Regions from separate parts of the Homo sapiens genome. Here all the other regions are linked to region 1. The links are contacts of gene promoters, found by promoter capture Hi-C in blood cells and fetal thymus (Javierre and others, 2016). All regions are on one chromosome and are shown on one strand. Each heading gives the region's core, a stretch centred on a gene start or on the middle of the fragment in contact. The rest is flanking DNA. Distances are from core to core; before and after follow the strand shown.

What was found. The method cuts DNA at HindIII sites, captures the fragments that hold promoters and counts their contacts. A CHiCAGO score of 5 or more calls a contact.
Region 2: a contact is called between a fragment that was not itself captured here and the fragment with the promoter of FECH in region 1, in 2 of 17 cell types (megakaryocytes and naive CD8 T cells). The highest score is 7.8, in megakaryocytes.
Region 3: a fragment that was not itself captured here is called in contact with the fragment with the promoter of FECH in region 1 in 12 of 17 cell types (total CD4 T cells, megakaryocytes, naive CD4 T cells and 9 more); the score reaches 11.5 in total CD4 T cells.
Region 4: a contact is called between a fragment that was not itself captured here and the fragment with the promoter of FECH in region 1, in 8 of 17 cell types (naive CD4 T cells, fetal thymus, naive CD8 T cells and 5 more). The highest score is 9.2, in naive CD4 T cells.
Region 5: a contact is called between a fragment that was not itself captured here and the fragment with the promoter of FECH in region 1, in 2 of 17 cell types (megakaryocytes and naive CD4 T cells). The highest score is 5.5, in megakaryocytes.

What each region holds. Positions count from the first base shown.
Region 1 is chr18:57,585,394-57,588,054 of GRCh38, reverse strand. It overlaps FECH (ferrochelatase), which reads left to right and starts at 1,353. Exons shown (of 11, transcript NM_000140.5): 1 at 1,353-1,501. The coding sequence starts at 1,435. RefSeq lists silencers at 1,172-1,531, 1,542-1,601, 1,612-1,661. The HindIII fragment of the contact is 11,690 bases long and covers 1-2,661 here.
Region 2 is chr18:56,720,623-56,723,283 of GRCh38, reverse strand. The region is part of intron 13 of WDR7 (WD repeat domain 7); the gene reads right to left. Among named protein-coding and RNA genes, the nearest start is that of WDR7, 71 kb to the right of the region's middle. The HindIII fragment of the contact is 3,970 bases long and covers 1-2,661 here.
Region 3 is chr18:56,745,019-56,747,679 of GRCh38, reverse strand. The region is part of intron 14 of WDR7 (WD repeat domain 7); the gene reads right to left. Among named protein-coding and RNA genes, the nearest start is that of WDR7, 95 kb to the right of the region's middle. The HindIII fragment of the contact is 6,804 bases long and covers 1-2,661 here.
Region 4 is chr18:56,764,559-56,767,219 of GRCh38, reverse strand. The region is part of intron 16 of WDR7 (WD repeat domain 7); the gene reads right to left. Among named protein-coding and RNA genes, the nearest start is that of WDR7, 110 kb to the right of the region's middle. The HindIII fragment of the contact is 257 bases long and covers 1,200-1,456 here.
Region 5 is chr18:56,780,599-56,783,259 of GRCh38, reverse strand. WDR7 (WD repeat domain 7) reads right to left here. Exons shown (of 28, transcript NM_015285.3): 19 at 1,604-1,727. Among named protein-coding and RNA genes, the nearest start is that of WDR7, 130 kb to the right of the region's middle. The HindIII fragment of the contact is 531 bases long and covers 1,047-1,577 here.

The sequences.
Region 1 (2,661 bases), core at 104-2,603:
AAGAAGACTATAATTTTTTTATGAGGGTAGAGAATAGCCACACATATAAGGAAGGTGGGTTGATACCTGGAGCAGGTTTTACTGTGCTTTTCTCAGGACATCCGCTTGGATATGAAGATCATGTAGGTAATATGAAAGGCTATCCATTTAATTTGACATTTTGCATTGGGCTTATAACCATCAGGAGGACCAACTTTAATAAGAAATAAACTAATTCCATCAGTAGCACATATTTAAGCTACAGAAAACTGGGTTTCAGCTGAATCTAGACTCCATCTTCCCTGAATGTTCCATATGGCTTGCCCCCTTTGCTCAAATGTGTATAAGGCCTTTGCTCGAATGTGTGAGACTCTGACCCACCTGCTTCAAATTGCATTAGTCCCTTCCCCCACCCTACCCCATCTCTTTTACCTTGCTTCATTCTTCTTTTGTCCTGAGAGGGAAAAAGAAGAGGGGAGGCCGTGGAAGGGCTCCATCATTCAAAGTATTACATGTTGTGATTATTTTCTGTGTCTCCCCTAACCCCATGTAAGCCCCCGTCTACTCTTTTCACTACTGTTTTCCCAGTGCACATAGTAGGTGCTCAATATTTGTTCAATGAATACCGATGCCTGAGACCTTTCTGTACCAAGGGCTGGTTTCCTACTCCACAATGCACTGAACATATATAGGCAGGGTGGGCTGACGGAGGTGTAGGAATGAAATGGGCGCCTGTTCCTCCCAGTGATCTCAGTGTGCGACCTTGGGGGCGGGACGGGCGGCTAAACTGGGAAGGTGCGCGGATATGATACAGACAAACCTCATCATACCGTCCCTCCAAGAAATGCACTTGCCAGGCTGGCCTTCACTTTTCCTAATGCTCTTCAGTGAGTTTCACCTGTCAAATTCTGCTACACAGAGAGGGTGCAGAGAAACTGAATAATCCCTTTTTCTATTCTGAAAATAAAGCAAAACAAAACAGGATCTGCACACTTGTGTTGTGACTAGGCAGGCAAACTGGAGAACTGAGGCAAAAGCATCCTTATATCTAAATAATAGTAATGGAAACGTCGAAAAAAGTTATTTGCTGAGTCATGGCTGAGGATCCTGACTTCGCTAGTTTGGCAGATGCAAACAGGGCACGCAACTAGGAGTCCAGCAGGTTTTGCAGTGACCTGCGATGGTGGTGGGGAGCGGGCTTCTAGCTCAGCCCCCGGGCCCATTTTCACGCAGGGAGCGGCGCCCAGCTGGGGCGGGCTCTCCGCGAGGGGCGTGTCTCTGCCTGGCCTCGCCCGCCCCGGCCCGGCAGCGAATGAGCGGGCGCGCCGGGAGGGCGCGAGGTCAGGGGGCTGGGGACGCGCGTGGGGATCGCTACCCGGCTCGGCCACTGCTGGGCGGACACCTGGGCGCGCCGCCGCGGGAGGAGCCCGGACTCGGGCCGAGGCTGCCCAGGCAATGCGTTCACTCGGCGCAAACATGGCTGCGGCCCTGCGCGCCGCGGGCGTCCTGCTCCGCGATCCGCGTAAGTGGGTCTGTCGCGGCGGCCGCCAGGGCCAGGATCCCTGAGAAGGCGTGGGCAGAGCGGGCAGCTGGCGCCCGGGCCCTCGCGCCCGGGGGATTCGGGGAGCGGCCTTGGGGGTGCTGCGAGCAACCGGGCGAGGGGCGTCGCGGAGAAGGGAGGGCTGAGGGCAGCACTCAGGGCTCGGGAGGCCGCGGGGAGGGCGCCCGGATCCAGGAGGCGCAGGTTCAAGTCCCATCGGTCGGCTGGGTGGCTTGGAGCAGTGGCTGGAATTTCCCAGAGCCTTGGTTATTGTCACCTGCAATAACCAGGCTGTTGAGAAGATTACGCGAGGGAAGGTATGTTATGGGCCTGCCATAGAGGATAGTAAGGAAGGCATCTTCATCATCACCACCATGGACATCTGCCCTGCAGTTCCCTCCCTGCTGAGGAAAGCCCATGGTCCTTGGTCCCTCTGTGCCCACTTCTCCTTAGCAGCGGGACCCCCCGTGGGGCAGCCTGGGCTAGCGTTTTCTAGAGATATCTGGGGAACTTGTAAGACCCAGGAACAGCCTCCCACGTTTCTGATGCAAACCGTGAATAGGTTGTGACCACAGGATGAGCTGATGGGACTGTGGATCTCACACACCTGGCTGGGACAGCATTTCCAACTGTGACACCTTGAACAAGGCACCTAACCTCGCCAGAGCTTTGGTAAATGTACATTGAAATCCTAATTTTTTTTTTAAGGCTTGCCTTGAACATGAGCACCTTGCCTGGCACACAGTAGTACACAGGCATCCTCAAGATGTCTAGCCATTCATGCAGAAGGCTGCCACGAATAAGATGCTTATTCAATGCATCCGAACGGTGACTGGACACAGACCGGACATATTTTTCTAAGACGTTCGTCAGTCTGACACCTACTTGGAGTGGAGGGAATCCCCTCTGAACCTCCATATCTCATTAGACGTGCCTTTGTTAGGAAAATACTAAGGACCCAGTGTACAATGAGGCTAGCTCACTAAGGGCGCTGGGGGACAAAGGGCATTGTTTTTTAAGAAGAGGCAGCACAGTGCCAGTCGTGGGGCTGAAAGAAGTATTGAACTAATCTTTTCTTTCACTGACCTTTCCTGTGGCAAATAAAGTCTGACAGGTCCTAGATTTGAGGTCGTGGAACAATA
Region 2 (2,661 bases), core at 94-2,593, 860 kb after region 1:
GCAAGACTGCATTCTTATTACTCAAATTTCCTTAAAATATCATAGATACTTTTGTTTGTTTTAAACAAAAAAAAAAAGGAAAGAAAAAAGCAATGTTCCAAGTGAGTGAAAATCACGAAAACAATATGGATGACACTAGCAAGAAGAATTGGGAGTGACCCAATTATTATTGACTAGAGCAACTGGTCTGTGTAAAAGAACAGTAAGAGGTAAAGACAGAAGGTAGGAAAGTACCACACTATGGAAGACCTTGTCTTGAAGGCTTTATGAACTAATATTGTTTATGGTTTATTCATTAAGACATTAATATGAAGCAAGTGTTGTCAGTGTTTTCTTTCCTAAGATTAATTTCCCGGCAGAGTAAAGGATGAATTAGAAGGTAGAAAGAGTAGGCAGGGTACCCAATAAAGATAGCCTAGGTATGGAAAAATATGGCCATAAATTACAATGGTACACTGGAAATAATAAAAAAGTAGTTGAGGGATACCTAATGGGAAAGACTTAGTGATTAATTGCATGGAGGGGTTGTGAGAGGAGGGAGTAGTAAGCACAGTCATATCTCCACTCTAACAACCCCTTCCTTCAAAAAGGGAAGCAATGAAAATGGTAACTACAGAGGTAGGTAAATATGTAAGATTTCATAAAGTCAATCATTAAAAGAGAAAAAAGAAACTCTCTGATTATACTTGGTTTTACCAAGGTTATAGTCAATTACCTCTTTTTCTTAACCCATTCATTCTCTGTGTCTTCCCCTGTCCTATAGCATGTTTTGTAACAGAATGAAAAGCAAAAATGTACAGAAAAGCTGATGATGTAATGGCAATATATAGTGAAATACAAATGTAAGATCTAATTTCCACTGTATTAGATACTACTGGCAAAGGGTCAAATACGTGAAGAAAACACTTGCTACTAAAACCCTCCACTAATAACAAAGGACTGAACTTCAACACTACCTCCTGATTCTCTTCAGCAATTTTAGTAACAAGAGAAAAACATCAATTTAAATGTATCAAAATAAAAGCATGAAAAACGTTTTCAAAAATTAGTCTTAAGGAAGAATAACAGTCACTAAGACTTTACTTGTATGACAATCTGAGCCCCTGAAACACATGCTTTTTGTTAGCCATGTTTTATATATGTTTTTCAAAAGACATACAAATATACATTAATTCATAATTCCCTGCTAGATTTTATTAGGTACTTAAGTTCAAAAAGATGACTCAAATGCATATTTCATGAAGTACATGCAAAAAGAGAAATATCAGAAAACATGGAGTGCAGAACATAAAAAGAAACATCACAGAACAAATAAATTCACAAGTCCTCATACACTAATTTCTGATGATATTTGTCAAGCATTAATGGTGTTTGCATTTGTATAAGAACATCTAATAATTATACATAAGGAATAGAAATATGATGTGGGAATCACTTTTGTTGTGTAGCAAGAATGATAAAAAGAAGCCAGATGAGAATGTGGTTTAGGCTTGGTAATGGCTAGATAAGAAGAACATTTTGTAACATCAGTCATTACTTTCAGCATGCCTGTTTCCCAAACAGACAGGATTCTGACCTTGTCAAAGGCCTGTGAGAATGGCACTGCATACTTACTGGGAATATGAAATGTGAAGAACGAGACGGTTGATCCCAGAAGCACATCAACAGCTCCACAGAAACCACCTAGGTCAGTGACCCACCTTTAATAACTTCGTAAGAGGGAAGCAAGAGGTTCATCTGGCTAAATCTTGTTGCTAGTGTTTGGGTAGTTTTTTAACTATTTAGAGATGTGAAAGAATAATTTCCATGGCCATTACATCACTATTACATTGCTATTACATATAAGAAAATGTCACAATAAAAGAACAAAAGATTCTAGAACTCCAGCTCTCTACATTTTGTATTACTAGCTTTGACTGGATTTCACAGGGAACTATAAACTGAAAACACAAAGTACTCATTTGAAGGAAAAAAATGTTTAAACATGCTGCATAAACGTATAAAGGAAAGACACTTCAAGTGTTTTACACTAGAAACATCAGTATAACTCAAAACAATAACTAGAAAATTGCCCAATATGCAAAACAGGGTTAATGTGGTATGGCTGCATTTGGAAAAATACATTCCTGAAACACTAACAAGAGAGATCAAGTATCTCCTCAGAGTTTAAATACATTTCATACATCAAACCCTGGCTGAATCTGATTTTTTCTAGCTTCATTTTTTATTTATTTAATAAATAAATAAATTTAATAAATAAATAATGTCAATACCTCCAGGATGTACCTTACTGACTCCCCAGGGAACTTTGTATCACTAGCTACAGCATGAACAGCAAGGAGGAAAAAAACAATGTATGCCTCCCATTATGGTTGAAATCCAAAATAAATCCAGCTTCTCTATAGCATTTATCTTGAATGTCATATTGACTGATTGTTTACCCAAATCTTCAGCATGTAATTTCAATATTACATGCTGTATTTTATCTAAATTGGGCTTAATTACACTAAACTGATTATAACAATAACCTCTTCCAGTACCCCTACAGTTAGGGCCTATTTGTCATTTCCTTCTAGAAAACTCACTAGAACAGTAACTTTGTCTATCAGTAAGGCCTCATTTGTAAATAATTTCATTTTATATTCTTCACAAATATATTTA
Region 3 (2,661 bases), core at 120-2,619, 840 kb after region 1:
AAGCCTCTCTCTTCTGAAAAGCCTTCCCAACAACCCTTCAGGTCAGTTTGGCTCTTGGGGTTCTCTCTCACTTGGTTCATACCTTAGGTAGTAAAAGGCTCAACACAATGAACTACGCACTTTTCTCCCACATCAGGTAGGAACTCCCCAATGCCAGGGCCCACTGGGTGTGGGTGTAACTGATGCCCTCTCCAGCTGGTTGTAGCTTGGGGCCTAGCTTAGAGTATGCATTCAATATGTGCTGAATGAATGCATGAATCAATCAATCAAGAGTATTAAACTATGTATGTTGAACAACTATTGTGATGAATGTTTTCAAATCTGTTATCCCATTTAACTTCATTACAACCCTATTATACCAATTTTAAAACTAAAACCAAGTTGAAGATGAGAGATAAGTCAGTCAGTCACCTAAGGTCACACAGCAAGTCAATGGTGACAATACAGGAGGAAGTCAGGTTCCTCCTCTATCTGCCCACCACTTCCTCCATGTTTTGAATAATTCTAGCTATCAGGGGACTCTCAACATTCATTCTGTAGAGATTTGAGAGAGAAGGGAGGTGGTAGAGGAAAGACTGAATCCACTCCACATTAGTGAACCTTCAAATCCTGGGTTATTTAGTGATTCAATGAACACTGTGCTGAGCACTGGAAATACAAGAAGCAATATGGTGTGGTCCTCTGAGAAGCTCTTTGTCTGATATAGAGCAGTGGTTTTGAGCAGGGGTAATTCTCCCCTCACTCCCAACGGACACTTGGTAATGTCTGGAGACACTTTGCTAGTGACGACTTGGAAGGGTGCTAATAGCATCTAGTGGGTAGAGGCTAGGGATGGTGCTAAAAATACTGCACAGGATTCCACAAGAAAAAATTATCAAGCCAAAAATGACAATAGTGTTGAGGTTGAGAAACTCTGATACAGAGAAATAGAGATGGAAACAAATACATCTACCTGCTTACTTATACTAGTACAATAGAATAAGTACTAGGATAGCAATATAATCCAAGTGCCAGAGGATCAGAGAGGAAGACCCAACTGCCCCTGTCTGATCTGGCTGTATTATACTTGAAAAATTCAGGTAGCCTTTGCAGGGACAGAGGTCACAGAACTCATGCTCATGAGATGAGTAGGAGTTAGCCAGGTGAAGGGTGGCACAAGCATATAGCAAGTACTACACTTACTGAAATAGAAGTGAAGGAGACTAAAAACCAAGTAACATTACACTGTAACAACCTAAAATCCTGGGCTATGCTGATAAATCTGCTCCCCTTTTACCATTCCCATCCTTTTTCCTACCCCGTCCTTTCTACCCATCTATTTGCCTGAGAAAATATCACTTTTACCAGAGCTGATTGCTGCTTAGTGTGATTGTGATTGAGGTGTGAATGTAATTAGGAAAAATAAGTATTTTAATACAAAATAAGAGAGAGATCAGTGGAAGACATTAACAGATCTTTGGATATTTTACCTGTTGTACTCAACTGACAGCATCATATAGAATTTCAGTCACAACCACTATGTACCAGTTATACTTCCTATACTTGGACAATGCAGTAAACTGTCTCCCTGAGATAACTGACAAATATATTTCTATTCAAGGTTAATTTTAGGGCCTGCAATACCATGTCATATAAATCATCTTACAAGATTCACACTGGAAAAAAATGTTTAAACCTTGAAATCATTGTCCCTGACTCACACACTTGCTGGCCAACCATTGTCCTAGGAAAGTTCAACATCCATATAGGTCAGTGATTTTCAACTTAGGGTCTGCAGTTGTTGGAGGTCAAGGGGCTTCTTTATGGGATGTAAAAGGATTCAAAGTAGGAGGGCAAATGACACAATGTTAAGCATAGGGTCATTTAGTAAAGTGAGTTACTAAGGTTACTTTTGCTCATTATGCTACAAGTGCTATTTTTATATTTTGCTATTTATAAACTTAAATTAGCATGTGACTAATTTTCTAGAACAAGGGTCCCCAACCTTCAGGCCAAGAACTGGTACTGGTCCACAGGTTCATGGCTTGTTAGGAACGGGGTCCTACAGCAGGAGCTGAGCGGCGGGCAAGTGAGCATTACCACCTGAGCTCCACCTCCTGTCATATCAGCAGTGGCATTAGCTTCTCATAGGAGTGAAAACCCTATTGTGAACTGTGTATGCAAGGGATTTACAGTGTGCGTTCCTTATGAGACTCTAACGCCAGTTTCATCCCGAAACCATCTACCCCAGGCCATGGAAAAACCGTCTTCCACGAAACCAGTCCCTGGTGCCAAAAAGGTTGGGGCGTGCTGTTCTGGAGACTTTCAGCATTCTAATTAGATGTCACACTATTATGAACCGTAGAGTAATGGTACAAATATTTTACTGCATATGAACACTGGACAGTGTCACATAAGGGATGCCTTGATATTCTGTGCATCGTAAGTGTGGGCTTTCAAATGCTGTTATCTTGCTTTCAAATTGCAAGTTCCTATTAGGTTCATCATTTAGTTTGGGGATTTGTACTTGCATCAACAATATTTTAAACTATAATTTTCCAAAACACATTCATAAGGCATGTATGAATCCTATTGTTAAGTCATAACTTAATCCCTACTCCCAAATTAGCCTGTTAGATGGCACTGCATTCTTATCACAAGGCTCTTTATCCAGTGGGAGGA
Region 4 (2,661 bases), core at 79-2,578, 820 kb after region 1:
AAAGGACCAGAAACAGTGCCTGCTCCCAACAGCCTAAATGGAAAACCTCATAATTCACAGGGCATTGGATATTCTGGAAGGTTTGGCCTCAGTAATAGGGAGTAATTCATCTTAGAGCACTGCTCCAAATCCACCTAACAAGTCATAAAAGCAAGACCAGGAAAAAAAAGAAACTGTTTCCACATGACATAACTGCATCCCACAACAAAGCTCAAGATTTTTAAGAACACAAAAGTGTCCAGCACCCAAACAGGCAAAATTCAAACATCTCCCATCTATTCTAAGATTATCAAACACGCAAAGAGGCAGGAAAGCACAGTCCACAAGGAGGAGAATAATTAATTTAAACCAACCCAGAACTGACAGAGCTATCAAAATTATCAGTGAAGGGTGTTAAAACATTTATTATAACTGCAATCCATGTATTCAAAGCAGTTAGGTAGAGACAAGGAAAAAAAATTTTAAGACCCAAATCAAAATTCTGGGGACACATATAACAATGTCTGAGATTAAAAGTGAATTGGATGACAGCTGGGCATGGTCACTCATGCCTGCAATCCCAGCACTTTGAGGGGGCCAAACAGGGAAAATTGCTGCAGCCTGGGGGTTCAAGACCAACCTAGGCAACATAGCGAGACACTGTCTCTATAAAAAAAAATAAAAATAAATTTTTAAAGTGCACTGGATGGGACCAATGGCATATTACACATTGCTGAGAAAAGACTAATAAACTTGAAGACATTGCAATGGAAACTATCTCAATCAAAACACAGAGAGGAAAAATAATCCCGAAATAAAAGAGCACCGTGATAGGTGAAACAACTTCAATCAGCCTAACGTACATGTAATTTCAGTCCCTTAGAGAGAGGAGGGAGGAAAGGGCAGAATGAATATTTGAAGAAATAATTATTGAAAATTTTTCAAAATTAATAAACTCAATGAACCCCAACCACAAGAAACATGAAGAACACTACACTGAAGAACCACACAATCAAACTGCTCAAAACCAGTGATAAACGGAAAATCTTAAAAGCAACAAGATTAATAAAGTAATGTTACAGTCAGAGGAACAAAGATAAGAATGCTATCAGATCTTGTTAGAACTAATGCAAACAAGAAGACAACAGAATATCATCTTCAAAGCATTAAAAGATATAAAAAGTCAACCTGGAATTCTATACCAGAAAAAAAAAAAAGCTTTCAAAAACAAAGACAAACAAAGATGTTTTCAAATGTACAAAAACTTGAAGAGCAGACGCTCACTAAAAGAAAGATTAGCATGCAGGGCTTAAAACCTAGATGACAGCTTGATAGGTACAGCAAAACAACATGGCACATGTGTATCCATGTAGCAAACCTGCACGTTCAGCACATGGATCCCAGAACTTAAATAAATAAATAAATAGATAGATAGATACATACATACATACATATATACATACATAAAAAGAAAGCTTAAAGTAAGTCCTTTTGTTAGAAGAATTTTACCAGATAGAAGTCTTGATCTACACAAAGGAATGTAGAATACCAAAAAAGGTAACTACGTGGGTAAATATGTATTTTTTCTTATTTCAGTCTCTTTAAAATATAATTACTGTTAAACACAAATCACAAGAATAATTTGTGAGGTTTATAACATATATAAAAGTAAAATGCAGGACAACAGTAGCATAAAGACCAGGAGATGAGAAATGCTAATATAATATTATAAGGTTTAACATTTATATTAAATGTTAAATAGTATAATAGCACTTGAATGTACACTGTGATAACGGAAAGACATAGACTACAGACTCTAAAAAAACTACTAAAATAATAAAAATTAGCTTATAAAGCCATAAAGGAGATCAAATGGAATCATAAAAAAAATCTTTTTAGTCTAAAAGACAGCAGAAAAAGAAAAAGAACAAAAAATAAATGCAACGAAGAGAAAAATAAGGTAGTAGGATAACAGATTCAAACCTAACCATATCAACAATCACATTAAATGTAAACGGCTTATGCATCTCAAGTAAAAAGCAGGTCAGATTGGATTAAAAAATAAGACCCACTATATGCTGCCCACAAGAAACACATCTTAAATATAAAGAGCCAAATAGGTAAAAAGTAAAAGGATGAGAAAAGATTATACTATGTTAACAGTAGCCAAAAATGCTGAAATTACTGTATTATTATAAACAAAGTAAATTTCAAAGCAAAGGACATTACCAAGGATAAAGAAGGTCATTTCATAATGACGAGGGTCAAATAATCAAGAAGAAATAAAAATTCCAAAGGTTTATGCACCTAATAAGAGAGCTTCAAAATACATGAAGCAAAAACTGGGATAGAAATGCAAGAAGGAATAAACAAACCCATAATTATAGCTGCAGATTCAATACTCTTATTTAATTGATAAAGGCAAGCAGGCAGAAAAATCAGCAAGTATATACTAAACTTGAACACGGGCAACTTGACCTGACTGACAGTTATAAAATATTCCACCCAACAACAGCAGAATACACATTCTTCTGAAGTACACACAGTATATTTACCAAGACAGACTATATTTTGGGCCATAAAACAAGTCTCAATAAATTCAAAAGGATTCACATTGTATAACATGGAGACTATAGTTAGTAACAATGTATTATATACTTAAAAATTGCTGAGGGAGTAATT
Region 5 (2,661 bases), core at 63-2,562, 800 kb after region 1:
TATATTCTGGAAATTTGAAAATCTGCACATATTTTTAAAACAATCTTAAGCCTAATAACTTAGAGTCTATATGTCTAGATGCCTTGTTTTTTTTTTTAACTTAATTTGCTTTATTAAAATAGAAAAATTTCCAGAAAGCAAATGATAACCTATATTCACTAAGTAAATATTTTATTGCTCAAACAATTAAGAATTTTCACTGGAGCTGTTAATGTGTGATACTTCGGCTATAAGTGAAATAAATATTTGCATTTTTATAGATTATAAAGTATTTAACAAAAGTATTATGCTTACTATGGGCTAGGAATTGTTCTACGCACTTAACAAAGATTAACTCATGCCACACACATAATAACCCTATAAAGTCCTATTATCATCTTTATTTCATCTGCGATAAAACTGAGACTAAGAAAGCTTAAGAAAAGTGCCCAAGGTCACATGCTTGATTAAACATCCACTAGAGTCACCACTGGCAAAGATCTGGTAGAGTTTAAACCAGATATAAAAGTTATAAACCTTTCTGAATTTTGTTTTCATTTTCCTTCTTGTATAATAATGTACTGTCCATCTTGACATGTGTAATGAGTATTTCATTACAAAGAATAACTGGTATTGGCAAAAGGTCATTTAAAATGAGTCCACCTAAAACCCAGGCCAAATTTTCATAATAAAAAGTTTTTTTTAAAGTTTCACTCACACTTTATCTTGCAAAACTGAAAATTTATCTTACAATGAATATAATTTAGGGTAAAATTTTAATTTTAATTCAATATAATTTAGGGTAAAATTTTTTAATCAATATAATTAAGAGCAAAATTAAAATTTTATTTGACTCAATTATATTGATTATAATTTAGTCACTTAGTAACTGAGGGACCTTAAAAAAATTATTTAGTAACTAAACTGTTTTTAGAAAAATATAAAACAAACCAAACAAAAATACAAAACCAACCAAATGATGAACTGGGAATGAGTATGCTCATTATGATAGCAAAATACAACTCTTTTCCAATGCACATTCAATGTAGCAACATAATTATAAAGCTTTTATTTTGCAAAAGAATATTCAAAAAATTTCAACAATTTTTCTAATCCTTTCAAATTATACTCTTTTGAAAGATTTATCCATCAAAATCCTTCCCAATTTTCTCTTTGTAAATATTGCCTGAGTCTAACTCTATCAGATCTTTGTTTTTCTAAGGATTCACAATCCCAACTTTAACTAGCAAGAGAGTTTGCCTTGTATCTGCACTTGCATATCATCAGATCCATATCGAACAAGCTGGCATCCATAAGCATAATAATGCAATGGGCGGAGGCACATGTTAGTACTAGAGTAGGATGTTTGATGGGGAATTCATTTATAAAAGTCAGTTCATTAATGAATATTTTGATATAGACAGCCTTTGCCTTTTGTTTTTTAAAGCAAGTTCCAAACTACAGAGATTCAGAAAATAATAAAGTGAATTTGAGGATCTGTTCTTTTCACTTTAAGGTCAGTGACTCATTTTTGTTGATGGGTAGTAGCATATATATTTGTGAGTACAGGTACCTTTTCTACATATTCCTGCAAAGCTTTGTAGAGAAGCATGAGAACTCTTACGTGATATGACGTGGTCTATGTACTGAGGTAAGTAAGGAGCCCAGGCATCAATGGCTTCCTTCCTGCCTGCCTGCTCAATTCTTCTCAGTTCCGCCAGAAGCAGGGCCTGCGCGGCTTCTCTCACCTAAGACCACAGACCCAAATGTAAAAGCAGAAAGCAGATTAGTTGAGGAGGTGAATATTCATAAACTAGAAAATTTATAATGAAATAAGGCTAGAAAACATAAAAACCATATTTATTTACATGAAAAACACTATTAACCGAATGAGTTAACTACTTAAAAATCAGATGCTAGCAAATCATCAAAGATATTTTAATTAATGATTTCACTGAAAACTATTTTAACACTAATGGAAAGAATTAGGTTTCAACAATTTAATCACTGCATTTTCCAAAGCATTCTTGAACTTTAAAACTGCATTTTCCAAAGCATTTTTGAACTTTAATGTAGCATTTTACTTTTAAAATTTCTATATTAACATTATTGTTAAGCCACTGTGAGAGCTATTGTTTTTTTAGCTTGAAGTTAACCTTATCTATTTAATTTCTTTATATTATATATGCTAAGTAGATACTATTTATACAAACAAATACGTATAAGTTAACATGATTCACGTATACCTAAGACATGCTTAAACAATGTTTTTGACAAATAAATATTCCTGTATAAAGGCATAACTTATTTTAGTTTTATAGAGGAAATCATTTTTCAAAATTATATATTTTTCTTTCAATGTAGCATACAAATTTTATTTTGCAGTTTTAATTTAGTGTTATTTTGGCAAAAATGCCACAGGCATGAAGTCAAAAAAGCTAGTCAATTATTAAGTGCTGTACCAATTTATTAACTTTTTCTGAGACCAAGTGTTGCCCTGTTGACCAGGCTGGAGTGCCATGGCGTGATCTCGGCTCACTGCAACTTCCACCTCCCGGGCTCCAGTAATACTTGGGCCTCAGCCTCCCAAGTAGCTAGGACTACAGGCGTATGCCACCACGACCGGCTAATTTTTTTTTGTATTTTTAGTAGAGACAGGGTTTCACCATGTTGCCCAGGCTG